Linked DNA regions of Homo sapiens: regions 1 and 3 are each linked to region 2. Evidence: promoter capture Hi-C in human tissues and cell types (Jung and others, 2019). All regions are on one chromosome and are shown on one strand. The core of a region is centred on a gene start or on the middle of the fragment in contact, and the rest is flanking DNA. Distances in the headings are between cores, read along the strand shown. Region 1 holds the start of KCNB1 (potassium voltage-gated channel subfamily B member 1). Region 2 holds the start of SLC9A8 (solute carrier family 9 member A8). Region 3 has its middle 41 kb from the start of SNORD12.

The links. Contacts are between HindIII fragments. The study calls those that stand out against the background at their distance.
Region 1: the fragment with the promoter of KCNB1 here is called in contact with the fragment with the promoter of SLC9A8 in region 2 in 4 of the 25 tissues and cell types used here (IMR-90 fibroblasts, aorta, liver and 1 more).
Region 3: a contact is called between a fragment that was not itself captured here and the fragment with the promoter of SLC9A8 in region 2, in 4 of the 25 tissues and cell types used here (aorta, hippocampus, lymphoblastoid cells and 1 more).

What each region holds. Positions count from the first base shown.
Region 1 is chr20:49,480,181-49,484,014 of GRCh38, reverse strand. It overlaps KCNB1 (potassium voltage-gated channel subfamily B member 1), which reads left to right and starts at 1,347. Exons shown (of 2, transcript NM_004975.4): 1 at 1,347-2,101. The coding sequence starts at 1,535. The HindIII fragment of the contact is 16,129 bases long and covers 1-3,834 here.
Region 2 is chr20:49,810,846-49,814,586 of GRCh38, reverse strand. SLC9A8 (solute carrier family 9 member A8) reads right to left here and starts at 1,759. Exons shown (of 16, transcript NM_015266.3): 1 at 1,639-1,759. The coding sequence starts at 1,664. RefSeq lists a silencer at 1,511-1,790 and an enhancer at 1,941-2,080. The HindIII fragment of the contact is 14,619 bases long and covers 1-3,741 here.
Region 3 is chr20:49,320,257-49,324,021 of GRCh38, reverse strand. No RefSeq gene overlaps it. Among named protein-coding and RNA genes, the nearest start is that of SNORD12, 41 kb to the right of the region's middle. RefSeq lists an enhancer at 1-294. The HindIII fragment of the contact is 6,734 bases long and covers 1-3,765 here.

The sequences.
Region 1 (3,834 bases), core at 98-2,597, 330 kb after region 2:
GCCCACGGGCGGGGGCGCCCGGGCGGCCGGGACGATGCGCGGTCCCTGGCCCCAGGAGGCGGCCGCCCTGGGGGTGAGTGTTGGGGCGTACGGCCTTCCGTGGGGGTGCATGGGGACACGGACAGGGGGTTTGCCTGCCGCAGCTCGGCCTGTTGGTCTGCTCGGGCTCCGCAGCTCCAGGCTGGAGGGGAGCGGGGTGGGAGGCAGGCAAGGGCTGAGGCCTGAGGGGACGCGCAATCCCCATTCTGGGGCTAAGGCGTGAGCCCTACATGCAGGGGGTGCTCAGGGGAACCCCCCGAAATCACTAGTGCGCGGTAGGAGGATGGCACCTTTTGAAAAGGCCAGAAAATTTAGCTCATTTCCCCGCCTCCCACCTCCCCCACCCCTTCCCTTCCAAGCCCGGGGAAAGGCGCAGAACCCGGAGTTATAAAAAGCCATCGCGGGAGAGGAACGAGGAGGAGGAGTAGGAGGAGGAGGAGGAGGAGGAGGAAGAGGAGGAGGAGGGGGAGAAGGAAGAGGAGGGGGAGGAGAAGGAGGAGAAGGGGGCGGGGAAGGAGCGAGGGGAGGACGGAGCAGGCGGATCCCGAGGACTCTGCCCGCCCCTCCTGCGGTAGGGTTGGGGGCTCAGAGGGAGAGGCGAGAGCGGGCTTTTCCTCCTCGCGGCTCACCTTGTCGCTGGAGCAATCTCAGGAGATGCTCCAGTGTTTGGGAAGAGGGGTCGCTCCAGGACAGAGGGGCTGTTGTGCACACCCCGTCTGTTGTGACCTCGGACAGGTGGGCACCTGGAACCCCCGGAATTCCCCCAAATCTTTTAAGATTTGGAAAAAAGCCCGCTGCCATTCCCCCACCCCCAAAATCTTGATTATCTCGAGAAGGGGAAGGAAAAGAAGAGAACTCGTTAAAAAAAAAAAAAAGAAGGAAAGAAGAAGAAGAAAGAAAGAAAAAGATAAAGAAAGAAAGTTTTCATGCAGCTCCCCCTCTCTCCCCATGGCGGGGCCAGGTTCGGGACTCGATCGGGAGACCCATAATGAAGAGAGTTTCAGCACTCTAAGGGGCGGACAGCGCCCCGGGCGGCTGGGTCGCGCCTGGGCCGCAGAAGCCCAGGGTGGGGCCTCCCGGGCTCCAGGGGCATCTCTTGGGGCCCTCTCCCCGCCCCGAGGGGCGGCCCCTCCCTCCATCCATGGGGTGCGGCGGACTTCAGCACCGGCGGGAGGGACAGCGACCATCCGTCCTACCCCACTGAGCCGCTTAAGCGCGGGGGAAGGTCAAGGCCGGCTGGGAGCCTGGTGGAGAGGTGGGGGGCGGGGGGACAGCATGCCCAGCTCCCCGTTTGCTGACCCGCGTCCGCTTTCGCTTTCTGCCTCGCAGCCGTCGGGATGGAGGTGAGAAGACGGCCGTGACGCGCGCCCGCGGGGCCCCCTGCACCCCCAGCAGCCCACAGCGCTCCCTGCCCCCCTCCCCCGCAGCAGCGGGCCTTGCCGTCGAGTGACAGCGGCCTGGGGGGGCAGGGGGGGCGGGGGCGGCCGGATCAGCGATGCCGGCGGGCATGACGAAGCATGGCTCCCGCTCCACCAGCTCGCTGCCGCCCGAGCCCATGGAGATCGTGCGCAGCAAGGCGTGCTCTCGGCGGGTCCGCCTCAACGTCGGGGGGCTGGCGCACGAGGTACTCTGGCGTACCCTGGACCGCCTGCCCCGCACGCGGCTGGGCAAGCTCCGCGACTGCAACACGCACGACTCGCTGCTCGAGGTGTGCGATGACTACAGCCTCGACGACAACGAGTACTTCTTTGACCGCCACCCGGGCGCCTTCACCTCCATCCTCAACTTCTACCGCACTGGGCGACTGCACATGATGGAGGAGATGTGCGCGCTCAGCTTCAGCCAAGAGCTCGACTACTGGGGCATCGACGAGATCTACCTGGAGTCCTGCTGCCAGGCCCGCTACCACCAGAAGAAAGAGCAGATGAACGAGGAGCTCAAGCGTGAGGCCGAGACCCTACGGGAGCGGGAAGGCGAGGAGTTCGATAACACGTGCTGCGCAGAGAAGAGGAAAAAACTCTGGGACCTACTGGAGAAGCCCAATTCCTCTGTGGCTGCCAAGGTGAGTCTGGGATCTGGGGGCTGCTGGTCTGGGGGGATCTGCTTGCATCCCCATATTGAGGACCACTGCTGGAGGACTCTGGCTTTGTTCCCAACGATGAAGATTAGTAATGGGGAGGGGCTAGGACTGAGTCCCCAGAGGTGAGGACCAACCCCCTCAGACTTTTCCCATGTGGCACTGGTCACTCCATCTTTTTATTATCCAAGACGTTATACCCCTACTTGGTTGGAGAGGTTTCACAGGGACCCATAAAAAGCCACAGCAAGAAGATGGACACTGACGAATAAGAGAGAGAGCACAGAGAGACAACAGTGGCTTGCTGGGGTGGAGTAGGGTTTGCTTCCCTGTGAAGTCCCAGACCTAGGCTGGATTGGATCACCCTGTGATTTTAATATCTCCATATTTATAACCTCACTCTGCCCCAGCAAGGGAAAAAAGCAGCTTACAGACATGCTTACAGGACATTGAGATACTGTCAGATAGTTTAAACATAAGTAAGAAGGGACCCCGAGGGGTGGGTGTGGACCCACACGACACATGCAGTTGGTTGTGGATGCTTGCGGGTGAGGGGTCACCCCCTGGTTACTTATTTATTTGGTGAGTTTATTTCCAGAATGGTTTGGTGCAGCTTGTAAAGATGTTTCAGCTCTTGGAACAAGATGTAAATTTCAAAATAGGAGAGAAAAATGAGGCAATGTGAAAAATAAAGGAGGAGGAGGAGGAGGAGGCAGGAATGAGTTTGAACACAAAGAGTGGGCCAGAGAGTCTTTGGTGCTGCTGGGTAATGGCAGGGGCTGTAGGGGACTGAGGAAGGCTTGGGGTGGGAGCCAAGGCAGGGCAGGAGGGCACTGGTTGATCAGCAACTTCTCTACGTCAGGCTGGGATTTGGGGTTGCCTGGGAAAGATGGGGCCTGTCTTCATGTGCCCGAAGTGCTGGGTGCTGGGAGCAAATGACAAAACAGTGTGTGCAAGGCTATAAAAGAGGTTCTGTGAGGTTCACGGAGAACCCAGAAAAGAGAGATGTTGATGTTGAAATCCAGCAAGACCAACTTGGGAAACATGGGGAGAATGTAACTGAGTGTGGGGCCTAAAAAAAGGGGTCAGGTAAGTAGATTTGTGGTAAAAGAAAGAGGAGAGGAGGAAGCCTAAATATCCAGCCATATCTTACTAGCTAGGGCTGACTCCTGTCCAGCCCAGCCTTTCATTGTGGGGTCTCCGGCTCAGTTCTCACTGAAGGCCCACCTGCAGGTCCCAGTCTGAAGGGAGACTCCGTGGGGTCCTTCCTCCAGATCTAGCCACCCAAGGAGAGGCCCCTGAGAGTGGATGGAGAAGGGGTGGCTGGTAAGAGGGTGGAGGGAGCCCCCACGTGTTTTTTTCGTTTCCCTGTTGGCCCTAACAAGGATGTAGAGGCTCCTGGGCCTGGCTTCCTCCTCTGAGGCTGTGGGCTGTCTCTCTCCATAATCCCGCCCCCAATTTTGTGTCCAAAAAGCCTCCTCCTAAGACAGAGTCACTCACCCTTAATCAGCTTAGGATCAACAGACTTATTTTGCTATTTCCAGGCATGACACAGGTTCTCCCACTGCACATCCCATTTAGGCCCAAATGTGACTCTCCCTCCCTGTCCCATCCCTAAGACATGAGAACAAGGTACAGGGAACTGGACAATTTGCCCTCCCAGAGAAGAAGCAGGCACAGGGCCATGTTTTGGTCTGGCAGCAAGACCCAAGCACCGG
Region 2 (3,741 bases), core at 510-3,009:
CAGTTGTTGATCTGGGCATGCCCTACCCTACTTTACAAAATCCCTCTCAGATTTCAAACGGCTCAAATGTCACCTCCTATTACCCCATCTTACCACACCCGAATTTACCCACTCCACTGCGTATGTTCCCACAGCTCTTTCACACTGTGCTGGGATTGTGAACTAGTACAATATTGCTATAATAACTGTTACTGTGACTACAAAAGTTATTATTTTCTGAGCACTGCTTTATTCCAGGAACTAGGTAACACACTACCTCTCATTTAATAGGTATAACATGTCTGATTGGGTATGATTACTTTCCGTTTTTTACTCATGCATAACTAAGGCTCAGGGAGGTTGCAAAACTTCACCAACATCTCAGTTAGTGGCAGAATCAAGCTGAAAACCCAAACTTGAAATCGCTGGGCTATATTGCCTCTTTTATTTTGTGCTGCTGAGGCTGTTTAGTGTCTGGGATGGAGCAGCTGCTCAATAAATAACTGATTACATGAAATGACCCCCACATGGCCAAGAAATATATTTGAAAAGTTATCAGGTGAAGGACTCCAGTATCAATGAAGGGGTTCCTTATTCATCTTCACATACTCATTCCACAAACAGTGATAGGGCATCTACAATCTGCAACAGACTCTGCCCTGCAGGTATGGAGATGACTTTTGGACTTGCCCAAAAGTACCTGGAGGACACAGCCCGTCCTTCCCCATCTCCCCTTGTCCAGCTAACCCCCTTCCTCTCTACACACCAGCCATGCTGCCTGTCACTCAAAAGCACTAAACTCTTTCTTGAGCCAGGCCTTTTGAACCTGATGTTATTTCTCCTATCCCTCATTCTGGTCATTCAAGTTTCTGCTGAATGTCACTTTTTCCTGAGTGGACTCCCCAACCTTAACTCTATTTTGCTTCCTTCAGAACACTTAACCCATTCATGCCAGAGGTTGCAATTTTTAGAACTGCAGACGTGAGAAAAATCAGACCTTGGCGATGACCTTGAGCAGTAGGATATAAATAACTCCCACATGCTTAGCGTTCCAATAATGGAACACTAGGCACAAATAACGTTAATTAATCACGATCTGAAACCACCTTGACTAATTATGGTCTTCTTTTCCCACTAGAATGGAAGCTCCCAGAGAGCGGCTCCTGGTCGGCCTCCTTTCCTACCACCTGCCCAGGGCCTGGAATTGAGTAGATGGCTAACAGTTAATGACTAAATGAAACTTAGTGAAGGAGAAAGACATGAAAACTGATCGTTATACAGGAGGCGACTGGCTACGTAGGAGGTGGGTGTGGAGAACCCGGACGACTTCCTGGAGGAGGCGGAAGAGGGCTCAGTAACCATGAGATTACCGAAAACTGGGAAAGTAAATATGGTTTGTATTTTCCGCAAGACAGCTCTCCGGGCCTGCGCTGGGCAGTAGATTCCCAGCTCGAGGGACCGATCTCCAGGGGAAAGCAAGGCCCACCTGGGCCCAGGCCCGCCCATCCCGCCCTCCTCGTAGGCACCGGCTTGGTCAGTCCTGGCCAACCAGCAAAAGAAGCTCCGCCTTCCGGGGCCGGAGGGCGGCCTGAGGCGCTCGCTGTCACCCGCCGGGGCCCAGCCCCGCCGCCTCCGCCGCCCGGGAAAAAGCCCACTCACTCCTCTTCCGCCATCTTCTCCCCCATCCTGCGGAGCTTCCAGGACCACCGAGTTCGGAGCCGCGGGGCTAGCAGGACCCGCTTTTGCTTCCGGCTTCCGCTGGAGGCGCGGGCGGGCGAGCGGGAGGCGGGGCCTCGGCCGCGCGAGGGCGGCCCTCTGTCCCTCCGTCTCAGTGGCCCGAGGGTGGGAGAAAGCGCGTGGGAGGATTGCTTCTTAGTCTCTCCCGGGGCTTTCGGGACGCTTGTCCGGCCTGGGCCACATGACCACCTGGGACCGAGAGATTCCGGCTTTTCCCCATCACAGGGCGGGGACGTTTTGGGGAAACTCCTCTGAGGTCACTGTGACTCACCCTGAGGGCAAGCAAGCACCCTCCACCCAGTGCCCTCGACTTCGCTGTGCTAAAAGAGTTTGAAAAAGGATGCCCAGCCTGCAGCCTAAGCGGAGAGACCCCAGGGGGACACTTCCCCACCCGAGCCTTAGTTTCCTTCGGCTGTGGAGAGGAATAACCGCCTGGACTTGGCAGGACTGTGCAGCATTCCATCTGTAAACATGTGTTGAGTTCAGACTATATGCCTAGCGTTAAAAAGGATGCTGATGATCTAGGGGTGGACCATTCATTAAGGGGTTCATTGATTCACCACATGCTTAGTAGATGCTTCTATGTGCCTAGCAGTGACCGGTGGGGTGGGGATGCAGGGAGGAACAAGGTGAGGTGAGAGGGGTAGGTGAGACCCCCATCGGGAGGACTGGGGCTGAGGACTTTGAACTTTATTGGCCGCTTCTGTTGCTACCTCCCTTCCTGATCCAAGGCACTCTATCTCATCTGGATAATTGCAACGGCTCCATTCAGGGTCTCTGACTCACCCCTGTTCCTTACGGACTTCCACACAGCAGCTTAACTCATCACTCCTCTGCTTAGACCCTCCAATGGCTTCCAATCTCCAGAGAAAAAAAAAACGTGGGGAATGTACAGGACTCAATCCTGCCCCCTTTTCCCCTCTGAAGTGTGTGGGAGGGGGGCATGGGGCTCTATATCTCCCCTCCCACACACTTTGACTTTCCACTATTGTCCCAGACTCACCAGGAATACTTCCACCGTTGCACTTACTGAGCCTTTATCTAGAATGCTCTTCTTCTGGGTAGCTCTTTGGCTCCCACCTCTCCTACGTTTGGCCTTTTATTTAACCCTTATCTTGTGTGTTAGACCTCCTTGACCACCCTACTTAAAATCCAAGGCCCCCCGCCTTCCCTAAACTATTTTTCCACATGACACCTAACCTACCATATGTTTTACTCATACACTTGTTTGTTAACCATCTCCCTCCATGAGAACGGAAGCTTCATGAATGCAGAAATTTTTGTCTGTTTTGTTCTCCATTTTATCTGCAATGCCTACAACAGTACCTGGCACATAGTAGACACTCAATAATAAATAATCATTGAGTAAATAAATCAGTTAATTCTAGCACACCTAGAAGGGTTTTGAACTGAGAAGTAACCTAAGCTTTGCTGCCTGTTGGGAGTTGACTGGGGATTGGCGAGAGAGAGAGGATGGAAGCCCCAAAGCCAGCAAGGAGGCTTTTGCAATAATCTAGGTGACAGCTGATGGCAGTCTGGATGAAAGTAATACGGTGGAGGTGGCAGGAATGGTTGGACTCCTGGACGCATACTGAAGACAAGGTTTGCTGACGGACTATGGCGTATAAAAGAGGAGTTAAGCATGGTGTCAGGGTTTTGGCCCCGAGGAACTGGGTAGAGAAGAAATCTGGCTCTAACCTTGGGTTCTCCATCCTCTGCAGTCTCTTAAGACTGCTAAAGCTGACTGAGAGAATGTCATCAGGATCCACCAATGTTTATTGAGTAATAATAAACTTGCTTCCTTCCTGCAGGTGTGGTGTTGGGCTATTGTTTCCTTAATTCTTTACATAGCTTTGAGGTAGATACCATCATTATCCACAGACATAGAGAAATCAAGGCACTTGCCTGCGGTCCCACAGCTAGCAAATGACAAGGCTGGGATTCAGGCACAGAGCCAGTGTTTTTAAACCAGTAGCCCTGCTACTCTCCACTGCCTTAATTTCTCTGGCTCTTAAATGGGACTAA
Region 3 (3,765 bases), core at 146-2,645, 490 kb after region 2:
TGCTGTATCCCATCACCAAGCACAGGGCCTGGCACACAGCAACTCAGGAAGTGATGTGCCACTGAACAATGAGTGAGCAAATCTTGCCTTAGCAACAACAAAGGAAATATAACCACAGGCTGACATTGCAAAAAGGCAACACCAGATAGCAGTGTTTCTCAAAGCAAAGCCCAGCCCACTTTTCCTGACCAAAGAAGAAATTCTAGCTTCCCAGCCTTACAGAAAGGGGTAGGGCGGTGGTAAGGCTGCTCACTGAGTCCTGGATACCCAGATGACATCGTGCCAGCTGAGCCTGCCATGGCCAGACCACATTTCCCACAGACCCCTTAGAATCGCTTCACCCCACCCTTACAGGCCCAGGCTCATGAAGGAACACCTTTTTTTTTTTTTTTTTTTTTTTTTAAGATGGAGTCTCTCTCTGTCGCCCAGGCTGGAGTGCAGTGGCACCATCTCGGCTCCCTGCAACCTCCGCCTCCCAGGTTCAAACGATCCTCCTGCCTCAGCCTCCGGAGTAGCTGGGACTATAGGCACGTGCCACCACACCCAGCTAATTTTTGTATTTTTAGTAGAGACAGGGTTTCACTATGTTGGCCAGGCTGGTCTCAAACTCCTGACCTTGTGATCCACCCACCTCAGCCTCTCAAAATGCTGGCATGAGCCACGGGGCCCAGCCAAGGAATGTCTTTCTGCATTATCCAAACCCCGCTTTCTCCTCTGAACCACACTGCCCAGCCTCCTTACCATCTGCCCTCCTTATTGTCTACCAAAAGGATTTTCTAGAATACAGTTCTGGCCTGTTCCCTGAAATCCCTCAGTGGTTCCCATCTCCTATTGAGGGGGTTCACGAAGGATCTTTTTTGACAGTGGATCATAGATGGAGACCCCCAAGCTCAGTGGCTAAAAATCTACATTTTCCTGCAACTCATCCACAGTCATTTACCGTGCCCTCCTCCTATTCAACATCTCAGCACACTTTACCCAAAGTTTCCCAAAGCACGTGGTCTCCCACAGCTGAGTAGTACCCTCCCAGCCTCCTTTCCCCCATCTTCTGGGAATACCACCTCAGTTTTCTTCTGAGAAACCAAAACTCCCCACTCTCAATCCACATGGTTTGGACAGGGCTGATCGCACCCTCTCGTTCCTGGTATGAGGCAGGTGACCCCCACATGGCCAGTTGATATATTCCTTCTCCCTGGGTTCAGTGATTGATTGGGTCAGCAATGACCATTTAATCCAAACTGAGCCCATGAGAACCAGCCCTGGGATTTTGGCTGGAACTGGGGAAAAATGCTCTCAATCCATTAAGGATGGCAGTTTACAGCTACTGTCTTTGACCACTAGCTTTGCTACCACTTGGTGACAGCATGCCTGTAAATGAAGTTAACACAAGAAAAGCCGAAGAATGGAAAGAGATAGAGTCCTGATGACATCCTTGGAGCCCCTGGATCCAGTCATGCCTGAAGCTCTGGAATCCCTGGGTTGTTCTTTAGTTACCTAAGCCAATAAATATCCTTGTTAACTTAAGTTAAATTGTGTCACAACCCTAAGAGTACTAAGTCTACAGGAAACACATAAGTGTATATGTAGGGACATCAACCATACAGGGTTGAGATGATATTTAAGAAGTATAGAATACATGGAAACATTCTGTAAATAACTTGGAAAATACAGTGGTGTCTATCTTTCAAGGCCTTACTAATCACTCCAGCCCCACTCTCTCCCTGCCTCCACACCATCCTCACCAATCATTTCCAAGCTTCACCTTGCTCAGACTGAAATTATTTATTCCTTTCCCAACTACCTTGTCTCCCAAAAATAGACAATAAGCTTGAGGGGTACCAGAACTCCAGCCTTGCTTCCATCCCCCAGTGCTTCTAGCTGAATTGGGCACACAGAAGGTGGCCACCAATTGTAATTGAGGCTGGGTGTGGAGGCTCACACTGGTAATTCCAGCACTTTGGGAGGCCAAGGCTGGAGGATAGCTTGAGCCCAGGAGTTTGAGACCAGCCTGGAAAAGATGGTAAAACTCCATCTCTACAAAAAATACAAAAAAAAAAAAAAAAAAAAAAAAAAAAAGCTGGGTGTGGTGGCCCACACCTGTAGTCCCAGCTACTCAGGAGACTGAGGTAGGAGGATCACTTGAGCCTGGGAGGCAGAGGTTGCAGTGAGCCATGATTGCACCACTGCACTCCAGCCTGGGTGACACAGTGAAACCCTGAAAAATAAAAAGAAAGGAAGGAAGAAAGAGAGAGAGAAAAAGAAAAGAAAAGAGAGAAGGAAGGAAAGAAAGAAAAAGAAAAAAAAAGAAAATTTTAATTGAACTAAATGGGGAAGATGTCAAGGGGTCTCCTTACACCTGTAGACTCAAGCTTCCCTCTCCTAACATTCTTGAGTCTCTGCCACCCTTGAGCTGCTATACAATATTGAGATCTGGAGTCAGACTGCTGGAGTGCAAATCCCAGATCTGCTGTTTAAGAGCTGTGCAACCCAGAACACGTCACTTAACCTCTCTGTGCCTTAGTTCCTCATCTGTAAAACAGACATGATAACACTGTTCCATAGCGTTATTATGAGGCTTAAATGAGACAATTTACTTCAAGCACTTAAAATAGTACCTTCCTGACATTTGGTATTTCATAAATATTAGATTTGTTGTTTGCGGATTTTGTTTGTTTTTTAAGTCATCTTCAACATCTCCCTCTATTACAATTGATCACTTAAGGCAGTTGACTTTATCTCCTAAAAATAGCCCATGAAAAAAGCAAATACTTCTCTACATCTTTTGCCTCCTAACTAGTCCCCTCCTGCCTGCTCCCCTGGGAGGTGGAAAGTGAACTTTTCCCTGCGTCTCTTCACAAGACCCTGCTCCAGATAAGGAGGCAGATCCCAAAAGAGCAAAACAAAGGTGAAAGCAAAGCTTTGAGGCTCCTGGTTCCTCCAGCCCCCACTCCGTATAGAAAGGACATCTCTTGGGAGGGGCTAACATTGTGTGATTCTGTGGGTGTCGGTCAGACCATGAGAAAGTATCACTGATGCCTTTGCCTGGACCCATCCTGGGCCCCCACTCCTGCGCTGTGGCAGGGGAGCCCCTGTTGGTGGTGCTAACCTGGGACTTCAGCTCCAATCAGTACAGACCCGCGGCTGCATGAACTCTCTACACAGAAAACCAACCAGTACAAAAGCACCCCCAGGCAGTCCTTCCCCAAATTTAATCTGGAAGGAGTTCTCTTTTGCCTATGGCTTGAGAAGACACCACATCCAAAATTACTTTCTCATCTCACTGCTGCCTGAATTTCCAACGTTGGCCACTCCTGGCAGCAAGGAGCTAGAAGACTCAGAATCAGACCCAGCTCCTCCACTGGCTGGGAATTCTTGACTGCCCAAAGCCCTCTCCTCTCTGAGCCTTGCTTTTCTTGACTGCTAAACAGGGATGTTATTCCATACCTGAACCCCAGAGGGCAGGGAGAATGTATTCAGGTTCCAGGGGACATCCAGCCCAGCTTCTGGGCACAGAGGGATAGGTGATTAATGGATGTTAGGTCCCTTACATTTTTATTTATTTATTTATTTATTTATTTATTTTTGAGACATGATCTCGCTCTGTCACCCAGGCTGGAGTGCAGTGGCATAATCATAGCTCACTGCAGGCTCAACCTCCTGGGCTCAAGTGATTCTCCCACCTCAGTCTCCTGAGTAGCTGGTGCTACAGGCAGTCATCACCATTTGAGGCTAATTTTTTTTTAATTTTTTGTAGAGACTGGGTCT